2 separate regions of the Homo sapiens genome follow, and region 2 is linked to region 1. Evidence: promoter capture Hi-C in 16 types of primary human blood cells and fetal thymus (Javierre and others, 2016). All regions are on one chromosome and are shown on one strand. Each heading gives the region's core, a stretch centred on a gene start or on the middle of the fragment in contact. The rest is flanking DNA. Distances are from core to core; before and after follow the strand shown. Region 1 holds the start of OR4S1 (olfactory receptor family 4 subfamily S member 1). Region 2 has its middle 310 kb from the start of FOLH1.

Region 1 (4,799 bases), core at 1,698-4,197:
ATTGTTTTCCTGACTTTTTGGGATAGTTTATTGTTAATGTATAGAAATACTACTAACTTTTGAATGGTAATTTTGGATATTACAACTTTACTAAATTTGTTTATTAGTTCTAACAGCTTTTTTAGGGGGAGAGACTTTAGGATTTCTGTATCACACATCTGTAAACAGAGAAAATTTAATTTCTTCCTTTCTACTTTTGATGACTTGTACTTCATTTTATTGCTTAATTACTTAGGGTAAGAGTTCCAGTATGATGTTGAATAGAAGTGGTGAGAGTAGAAATTCTTGTCTTATTCCCAATCTTAGAGGAAAAGCTTTCAACTTTTTGCCATTGAATCTGATGTTAGTTGTGGGCTTGTCACATATGGTCTTTATTGTGTTGAGAATTACATTCTTTCTGTAATTAATTTGTTGAGAGTTTTTATCATAAAATGATGTTGAATTTTGTCAGTTTTTCTTCATCCATTGAGATGATAATATAGTTTTGGTCCTCAATTCTCTTAATGTAGTATTTGCATATATTGAACCATCCTTGTATCTCAGAGATAAATCCCACTTGATCAAAGCAGATTATCCTTTTAATGTGTTGTTGAATTTGGTTTGCTAGGATTTTATTAAGGAATTTTGCATCTATGTTCATCAGGGATATTGGCCTGTAGTCTTCTTTTCTATTAGTTTCCTAGGGTGGCTTTGGTATTAGGGTAATGTTGTCCTCATAAAATGAGTTTGGAAATATTCCCTCCTCTTCATTTTGTTTTGGAAGAGTTTGAGAAGGATTGGCATTAGTTCTTTAAATGTTTGGTAGAGTTTAGTAGTAATCCGTTCCTGGGATTTTCTTTGATGGAAAACTTTTATTATTTGTTCATTCTCTTTGTTCATTATTGGTTTGGTCATATATTCTATTTCTTCATAATTCAGTCTTGTTAGATTGTATGTGGCCAGGAATTTATCTGTTTCTTTTGGGTTATTCAATTTGTAAGTCTATAATTGTTCATAGTAGTCTTTTGTGATTCTTCATATTTCTGTGGTATGAGTTGTAATGTCTCTTCTTTCATTTCTCATTTTATTTATAAGTCTTCTCTCTTTTTTATTTGATTTTTAATGTATTTTCAATATCTGTGTTAAATTTCTCATTTTGGTTTTTTACTATGTTCCTGATTTTTTAAAAATGATTTCTCTGTATTTTCCTTTACTTCATGAAGCTTTAAAAGCAATTATGTTGAATTATTTTTCAGCCTGTTTACATACCTCCATTTCTTTGGGGTCAGCAACTTGGAAATTATTGTGTTCTTTTGGTGGTATGATTTCTTGGTGTTTCATTGTTTCTTGTTACCCTCTTATTGATGTCTGCACATTTGGTGGAGTAGTCATCTCTTGCAAATTTCATTGGCTAATTTCAGTGTGGAAAGATTTTCTCTTATGGGGCATGATGGTGCTTTGCAATCCTTGTGGCCCAGACTGACACAAGCATATAATGGGATGGACTGAGTGGGTGGGATGGATTGGTTTTGGCACCAGTGGGATGTGGCTTTATAGTCTTTGTGTGGCCCTGTTAGCTGACGTCAATGTTGACCCAGATTTGAGGGATCCTCAGTGGCCAAATTCTTGGATGTTTGCAGTGACAGCAAGGGTTTTCAGGCTCGTTGCTGGTAGTGGCTGCTAAGGTCTTCCTTATTTAATTTTCTCCCACTGGGGAAGTTGTGGCTTAGGGAACCATTTGACATGGTTCTGGTATGTGTGCTTCCTCTTGATGTTGGTGGCACAGGTGTATTTTGGGTGGCACCTATTGTGCAGCCATGTAACTGAGGCTTGGGTCATGGGCACACCTGAAGGAACTATGGTTCTGGGATCTGGAATGATAATGACACTGGTGCTTAGGGTGAAGACACTCCTGCCACCACATAGGTAACAGTGCTAGAGGTGTGAATGCTTTGAAGCAGCCAGGGAGCCAAGAATGGGAGCATAGATATATGTAGAGTTACAATGGCTCTGGAGTTGGGGTAGGGACTAACTTTCTGTGGAGGGTGAACTGGTGCCCAAAGTGTGGGCATGCCCAGAGAGACCTTGACTCCAGGGCCCAGAGCTTGCTCTAGTGATGGCCCAGTGTCTGATACATGGGTGGGTGCAGTGCAGTCCCAGACCCTGGGTCTGAGTGTGAGCTCTCAAGGGGCAGCTGCAGTTTGGGGTTTGCATGGTGTTGGGGAGGTGGCAGCTCCTTTTCCAAAGTAGCTCAATAGCATCTGCTTCTTGCAGGTGGAGGCAGTACAGTTGTGTCTCCCTCTCTAGGGTTTCCTGGTGGGAATGGCTCTTGGTTATCTCAGTGGCATAAATGCTAGCGTTCTCTGCAAAGCAGGGATCTTGATGACTACCACCACATGGCTGATACTAATTGCCTCAACCTTTCCTGTTTGTTCCTAACCATCTCCTGGCATCTCAAGTATGCAGATATCACTAGAAATCCTTCGTGTGCGGCTATTCTCCATGTTTTTGCTCCTCTGTATTGCTGCAGATTCTTTAATGGGCCCTTGAACCCTCGCAGACCTATTTTGGTTTGTGGATAGCTGTCTCTCTCTCGCTCTAGAGATATATATATAAGATATACATATTTATATATTATATATTTAAGATATATATATTTATATATTATAGATTTATATATATTATTATATATAATATAAATTATATATTATATATATAATATATATTATAATATATATTATATATTATATATATATAATATATATTATTATATATAATATATAATTTATATATATATATAATAATATATTATATATATTATATATGTATTTTTTGTGATGGGGATGAAGGCTAGTATCTTTCTTACTCCATAATCTTGGTGGTATCTCAGAAAACTTTCTTATGTCTCATAATTTATGTCTTTGCAGAGCCAGCCAGCCACTTTGTCGGTCATCAGGGCAGATAATCCATGGGTGCCAAGAACAATGTGACTGAGTTTGTTTTATTTGGCCTTTTTGAGAGCAGAGAGATGCAGCATACATGCTTTGTGGTATTCTTCCTCTTTCATGTGCTCACTGTCCTGGGGAACCTTCTGGTCATCATCACCATCAATGCTAGAAAGACCCTGAAGTCTCCCATGTATTTCTTCCTGAGCCAGTTGTCTTTTGCTGACATATGTTATCCATCCACTACCATACCCAAGATGATTGCTGACACTTTTGTGGAGCATAAGATCATCTCCTTCAATGGCTGCATGACCCAGCTCTTTTCTGCCCACTTCTTTGGTGGCACTGAGATCTTCCTCCTTACAGCCATGGCCTATGACCGCTATGTGGCCATCTGTAGGCCCCTGCACTACACAGCCATCATGGATTGCCGGAAGTGTGGCCTGCTAGCGGGGGCCTCCTGGTTAGCTGGCTTCCTGCATTCCATCCTGCAGACCCTCCTCACGGTTCAGCTGCCTTTTTGTGGGCCCAATGAGATAGACAACTTCTTCTGTGATGTTCATCCCCTGCTCAAGTTGGCCTGTGCAGACACCTACATGGTAGGTCTCATCGTGGTGGCCAACAGCGGTATGATTTCTTTAGCATCCTTTTTTATCCTTATCATTTCCTATGTTATCATCTTACTGAACCTAAGAAGCCAGTCATCTGAGGACCGGCGTAAGGCTGTCTCCACATGTGGCTCACACGTAATCACTGTCCTTTTGGTTCTCATGCCCCCCATGTTCATGTACATTCGTCCCTCCACCACCCTGGCTGCTGACAAACTTATCATCCTCTTTAACATTGTGATGCCACCTTTGCTGAACCCTTTGATCTATACACTAAGGAACAACGATGTGAAAAATGCCATGAGGAAGCTGTTTAGGGTCAAGAGGAGCTTAGGGGAGAAGTGACATTCCAGAGAATCTCAATCCAGCTAGGAAATTGGGAGACTTTCCATCTTGTAGCATCTAACACAGCCTTTTTATTTCCAGTCTGATGTTTGCAATGGCAATTATCCTCCTAGCTCTTGTTGTTATAATAATTCCACATATTCTTTCAATCCTTTATTCATTAAATATTTATTGGATGTTTACAGTGAGTGAGAATACAAATAAAAGTAAGATATAATCTTTCCCTCAAGGAGAGTACAGTCCAGGATGCTTTTAGTGCGATATTTAAGAGCTCATTCAGGAAACGTGTGAGGGCCTGTGAATGAGGGAGTGTCTTGGAAGTCCAGATATCTCATTGATAAATGAATAAAATCACTACATAATTCCTTTGTGTTGGCTAACACAGTGCTCAATGGAATTCATTCTTTTCTTTTAAGAGTAAAGAGCCACTTTACTCTTACCCTTTCATGCTCTCAGCAGGCAGATAAATAAATAAATAAGTAAATAAATAATGTGGAGAGGTCAAGGGATTTACTAAAAGTTACACTTTAACTCCAGAGCAGGGTGAGGACTAGAACACAGGTCCCTAAGTCAGCTTTCAGAGCTTTTCCTCAGGACCTCTTGATAAAGTGTGACTAAATGGACACCAAGCAGGAATGACCAAGAACTTTTGAAAGACCAGGAATGATGGTGATGATGACTTGGGATGATGAAGAGAACAACCAGGAAGAACAAGTTGTCAGCACTTCTTTCAGTGGTGCTGATTCCTCTCTCCAGCAGAACAGCTGACTGCTGCCCTCTTTAACCCCTGTTGCTTTGCTCCATTTTGCCGCTAGAGGGAGCCAAGTTTGTACAGAATGCAATTAAACGAGCCGGATTAGGTATCTCTTAAACATTCGTGGGTCATGTAACCTCATTGGGCCTCAATTTCCACATTTACAGA
Region 2 (4,864 bases), core at 1,637-4,136, 1.2 Mb after region 1:
CTATACCCATGCATAGTTGCCAGCCTCTAAGATGGACCTCATAGATCTTCCTTCTGATGCCCATCCCTTTGCTTAGTTGCCTCCAAAAATATATCAGGGCTGGTCTGTGTGTCCAATAGAATAAAGTAGAAACAAAGAAATGCCAGATTGTGATTCTGGAGACCTTTCTAAAATAACTTACTCTGGGAAAAGCCAACTGCCATTGTATGAGCAGTCATATGGAGAGGTCCGTGTCACAGGGAGCTGAGGCCTCCCACCAACTGCCATGCAAGTGACTTGGATTGGCTCCTTCAGCCCCAGTCAACCTTCTGGATGACTACAGCTTCAGCATATATTTGGCTGCAACCTTCTGAGTGATCTTGAGCCAGAATCACTAGCTACACTACTCAGTTTCCTAATATTTAGAAATTATGTTAGATATTAAATGTTTAATCACTGAATTTTGGAGTAATACTTTATGCAGGCTAGATAAGTAATACTGATTCTGCTACTGCAATGTGGGTATGCTATCATAACAAATATCTAAAAACTTGAAAACTAGGAAGTGGTTACAAGCTGAAATGATATTAAGAAGAGTGTTCATTGAAATGTTGAGCGTGTGTTCTTTTTTTCCTGCTACTTATAGTAAATGAGAAATGAGAGAAGTAAATAAAAGGAAAGGCTAATATATGTGTAAAAAGTTGAGATTTCATAGTTTTAAATTTTTAAGCTTCCACAGGTAGCAAAAGATTTTAAAATTAAGACATGGCCTCTGAACAAAGAGCAAGGAAAACAAGGTCCAAAGATGCAGTAAATACCACGTTTAAAAATTATGTTTATCTTAGATAATTTGAAGATGGTACTTCCACATACACCATTCTGTCAGGTAAAAGTCCTTCCAGACAGACTGGGCTTCTAGGAGTGTTATCTGTAGAGATCCAAGGTAAAGAAGGGCTTATTTCGGAGAAATCTGTGGGTGTGGATTTCACCTAATGGAATGAACTGCAAGAAGATTCACAAGAGATTTAAAAAGTTTTTAAGATAATATATCAATAGAAACAATGCCGGCTTGTATGAAAAGGGACAGAAGGAGTACAAAATGAAAGGCCTTTGGGCCTGCCAAATTTCTCCTAGCAGGAAATAGGCTGGAAGGACTACTTACCTGCATCTCCTATAAAAGGAAGAGTGGCTCAGTGGAAATAAGATCCAGAAGGGAAAGCCAAGGGCTATGACGTCTGGGCAGAAGCAAACTGAGACTTAATCAAAGAACTTGCTACATATTCCCAGTTGGATCTCAGAATTGCTAGAAACCAAGACTACTATGTGCCACTCATTTCTCTCTTCTATTGAAAAGGAATTGTAAATGTATATAGGAGTGTGTGTTTCACATGTGGGAGGTATGCATATCATTACAGCCAGAGGGCACACTGTGGTAATAATCGTGTAAGATACCCCCAACTAATCCCCACCTCCTAGTACTCATGTCCTTGTGTATTCCCTTCCCACATTCTATTATGGAAGGTCTGTGTGTCTGATAGAATAAAACAGAAGAGACAGGGTGAGACTTTGGAATCTATAGGACATAAAAGACATTGAAAATTCTCTCTCTCTCTCTCTCTCTCTCTCTCTCGTTATAAACAAACCTATACAATTGATATTTGAATCACATTCTGTAGCCCATGTCAACCCTCCAGATGATTGCAGCCCCAGCTGACAGCTTGACTGCCACCTTGTGTGAGACCTTGAGTTCAAACCCTTCACAAATCTGCTCCAGGATCCCTGATTCTCATAAACTATTAATATGAATAAAATGCTGATTTAAGCTGATAAGTGTTGGGGGTATTCTACTCACCAAAAATAGATAACTAATATACCACATGTCCAGAATAATGGTATGTGGTGAAACTGATCTGAGCATCACCCTGTCTTATTGTCTCACCTGATAAAAATTGAAGTGGAAGGCCGGGAGTAAGGCTCACACCTGTAATCCCAGCACTTTGGGAGGTAGAGGTGGGTGGATCACTTGAGGTCAGCTGTTCAAGACCAGCCTGACCAACATGGTGAAACCCCGTCTCTACTTCAAATACAAAAATTAGCCGGGTGTGGTGGTGTGCGCTTGTGGTCCCAGCTAGTTTCTGGGCAGGAGAATTGCCTGAACCTGGGAGGCGGGAGGTTGCAGTGAGTCAAGATCGCGCCACTGCACTCCAGCCTGGGTGAGAGCGAGACTCCACCTCAAAAAAAAAAAGAAAAGAAAAGAAAAGAAAATGGTAGAATCCATTATGATCACTAAACAACAATAGCATCTAGACATGGTTCCTGCTACTTAATTTTCCCTGAACTGTTGTCTGCAGAAGGACTGAAAGCACCTTGAACTGGTATGTTGTACAATGACTTATTGAAAACTTACTGTGTTAACTTGGCTTTTACACTCCTTTGTTGCCATTCATACTTAGCACCCATATAATTATTTACATTTCCCCAAAGTGTCATATTTTTTAACATCTTTATATCTAATTTTTCCTTCATCCTATTACCTCCTTGTCTATCTGATAACATTCTTATCCTCCTTCAAGATGTTCTTCACATAATTTCTATAATGCCTTCCATACCACCCTAATGAACATCAACTCCTTCCTTTGCCTGTTAATGTGCCTTGAATATGATTCTTCTTGATAGTTATACTAAAATATTTTTATATTCCCAGTGTCTTATACAGTGACATACACAGAATATGTTATTAAATATTTTATGGGTAAAGGAAATAATTAACAGATGAGACAGCACTGTGAAGACACCTGATGAATATTAAATATATAAGAAAAGCTCTAGAGTAAGGAGATGTCATGTGCAACGAGATAGGGACAATTATTATTACATTGATTCTAAAAGGATCAGTACCTTATAAATTACAAATATTTCATATACCACAAAGACAGACTACTTAATTGTTTTATAGAATTCTCAGATTCAATTCTAAGAAGCTAGTGGGCAGGATCCATGTCCATTATTAAGCACCAGCATGCCACAGGTGTTTAGTAAATGTGTGTTGAGAAGTCATGAAGGGGGAAAAAAGGCTGTGTTTTTTACTTTATAGATTATTAGTGAGAATAGCTGAGTATAACAGTCATTGACTTACTGTATCCCTATTTATATTTCCAAAAATCATATATTATATTTAATGACTTGCATATCTAGTCAAAAAAGAAGCCAAGCAATAGGACTTAGCCAAAGGAAATCTCAGCTTCAGCATACTTTTTAAAATGGCACTGAGAGAGTTTAGGTAGCAAGTAGCAGGACCAGAGGAGAGGGGTTTCAGCTGACTTCTCAACACACATTTACTAAACACCTGTGGCATGCTGGAGCTTAATAATGGACATGGATCCTGCCTACTAGGTTCTTAGAACTGAATCTGAGAAATAAGAAAATGTGGTAAATGACTAATAGAATAAAGAATACAGTGCTGTAAAAGATGTGACAAATACATAGCAAATGAAAAGAGGGGAAAGGGAATTTGAAAGTGTGGTGGGTTATGAAGGGATTGATGTAGAAGGAGACATCTCAAATAGGCTCTAAAGGTTAGATGCATAACCATATATTCAAGCCCTTATCTACTGATTGTAAGAATCAGCATAGCACAGGATTAAAAACACCACATTTAGAGCCAGAAAGAACAGAGCTGCAATCTTGCTTTTCATTATTACTAATTATAGGACCTTGACTATATGACATTACTTTTCTGTGTCTCAATTTTATAATATGTAAAATGAGGATAATAATAACAGTGCCATCTCATTTTATTATAAGAGTTATGTGAAAAACCATAGAAAAATATTACACAACCTGGCAAACAGGCAGCAACAAATGCATTGAAGTTATTATTATGGTTATTATTGTTGTGATTTTAGCTACCTGGAGACCCACAGAGATGAACTGATCCCTTTACTCATTCTTACTGCCGTGAAAATATGATACTTGAAGTGGGGGCAGCATTCATGTCACCATGGGAAACAGCAAAGAGAACAATATAATGTTGGCTCAGCTTTCACTGAATCTTTTAACCATACTGGCAGCATCTTGCTGCCAGACTGCTTGTTATGTGAGAGCTGTAATCCATGTATCTTAAGTCACTTAAGTCATCGTTTAACAGGTTTTCTTTACCTGCATCCCCAAACACTCCTAACTGATACATTGATCATCCAACAAGGCAATTTTAGAGTGAATAAGACATAGCAGGCACTGTAAGACATTATATGATTTTGATAGGTGGAAGTAATTTCATATTTGTTCTAGACGATAATATTTCAAAGACCCACTGGATCCCAGATTGAAAGAGAGGAAGCCAAGAACTTCATACACTCAAACTGAAAGCCCATACCTTTCATTCCCAAAATATCCATGACCATGACAGAATCTGGGTTTCCTCACTCATAAGATGAAAGTAAATAATAAATACTTTATAGAACTGTTGTGAGGATTAAATACAATAGTCTATGAAAATTTTCTTTCATAGTGCCTGGCAGTAGAAATCACTCAGGAATTGGTATCCATTTACATCATGAAAGCAACATATTATCATTCCCTAGTGAATTTTCTTGAAAAAATTATCAGTTATTTAATATGTAATAAATTAGTCTCTTCATTCGAAGCATACATTCTTCCTGGATAGGGTTCAAATGTTACCTTTATTTTTAGTCCTTTCCCCTCATCCCCAGTGCCACAACCAATCACAGCCCAACTCAGAGAACATACTTATTTTTTGTTTTGTTTTATAGAAACAGGATCTCACTATGCTCCCTGGGTTAGTCTGGAACTCCAGGCCTCAAATGATCCTCCCGCCTCGGCTCCCAAAGTTCTGGGATTACAGGTGTGAGACACCACACCCAGT

Evidence for each region. The method cuts DNA at HindIII sites, captures the fragments that hold promoters and counts their contacts. A CHiCAGO score of 5 or more calls a contact.
Region 2: a fragment that was not itself captured here is called in contact with the fragment with the promoter of OR4S1 in region 1 in 1 of 17 cell types (M2 macrophages); the score reaches 5.3 in M2 macrophages.

Annotation. Positions count from the first base shown.
Region 1 is chr11:48,303,276-48,308,074 of GRCh38, forward strand. OR4S1 (olfactory receptor family 4 subfamily S member 1) reads left to right here and starts at 2,948. Exons shown (of 1, transcript NM_001004725.1): 1 at 2,948-3,877. The coding sequence starts at 2,948. The coding sequence ends at 3,877. The HindIII fragment of the contact is 12,544 bases long and covers 1,201-4,799 here.
Region 2 is chr11:49,518,630-49,523,493 of GRCh38, forward strand. No RefSeq gene overlaps it. Among named protein-coding and RNA genes, the nearest start is that of FOLH1, 310 kb to the left of the region's middle. The HindIII fragment of the contact is 4,359 bases long and covers 708-4,864 here.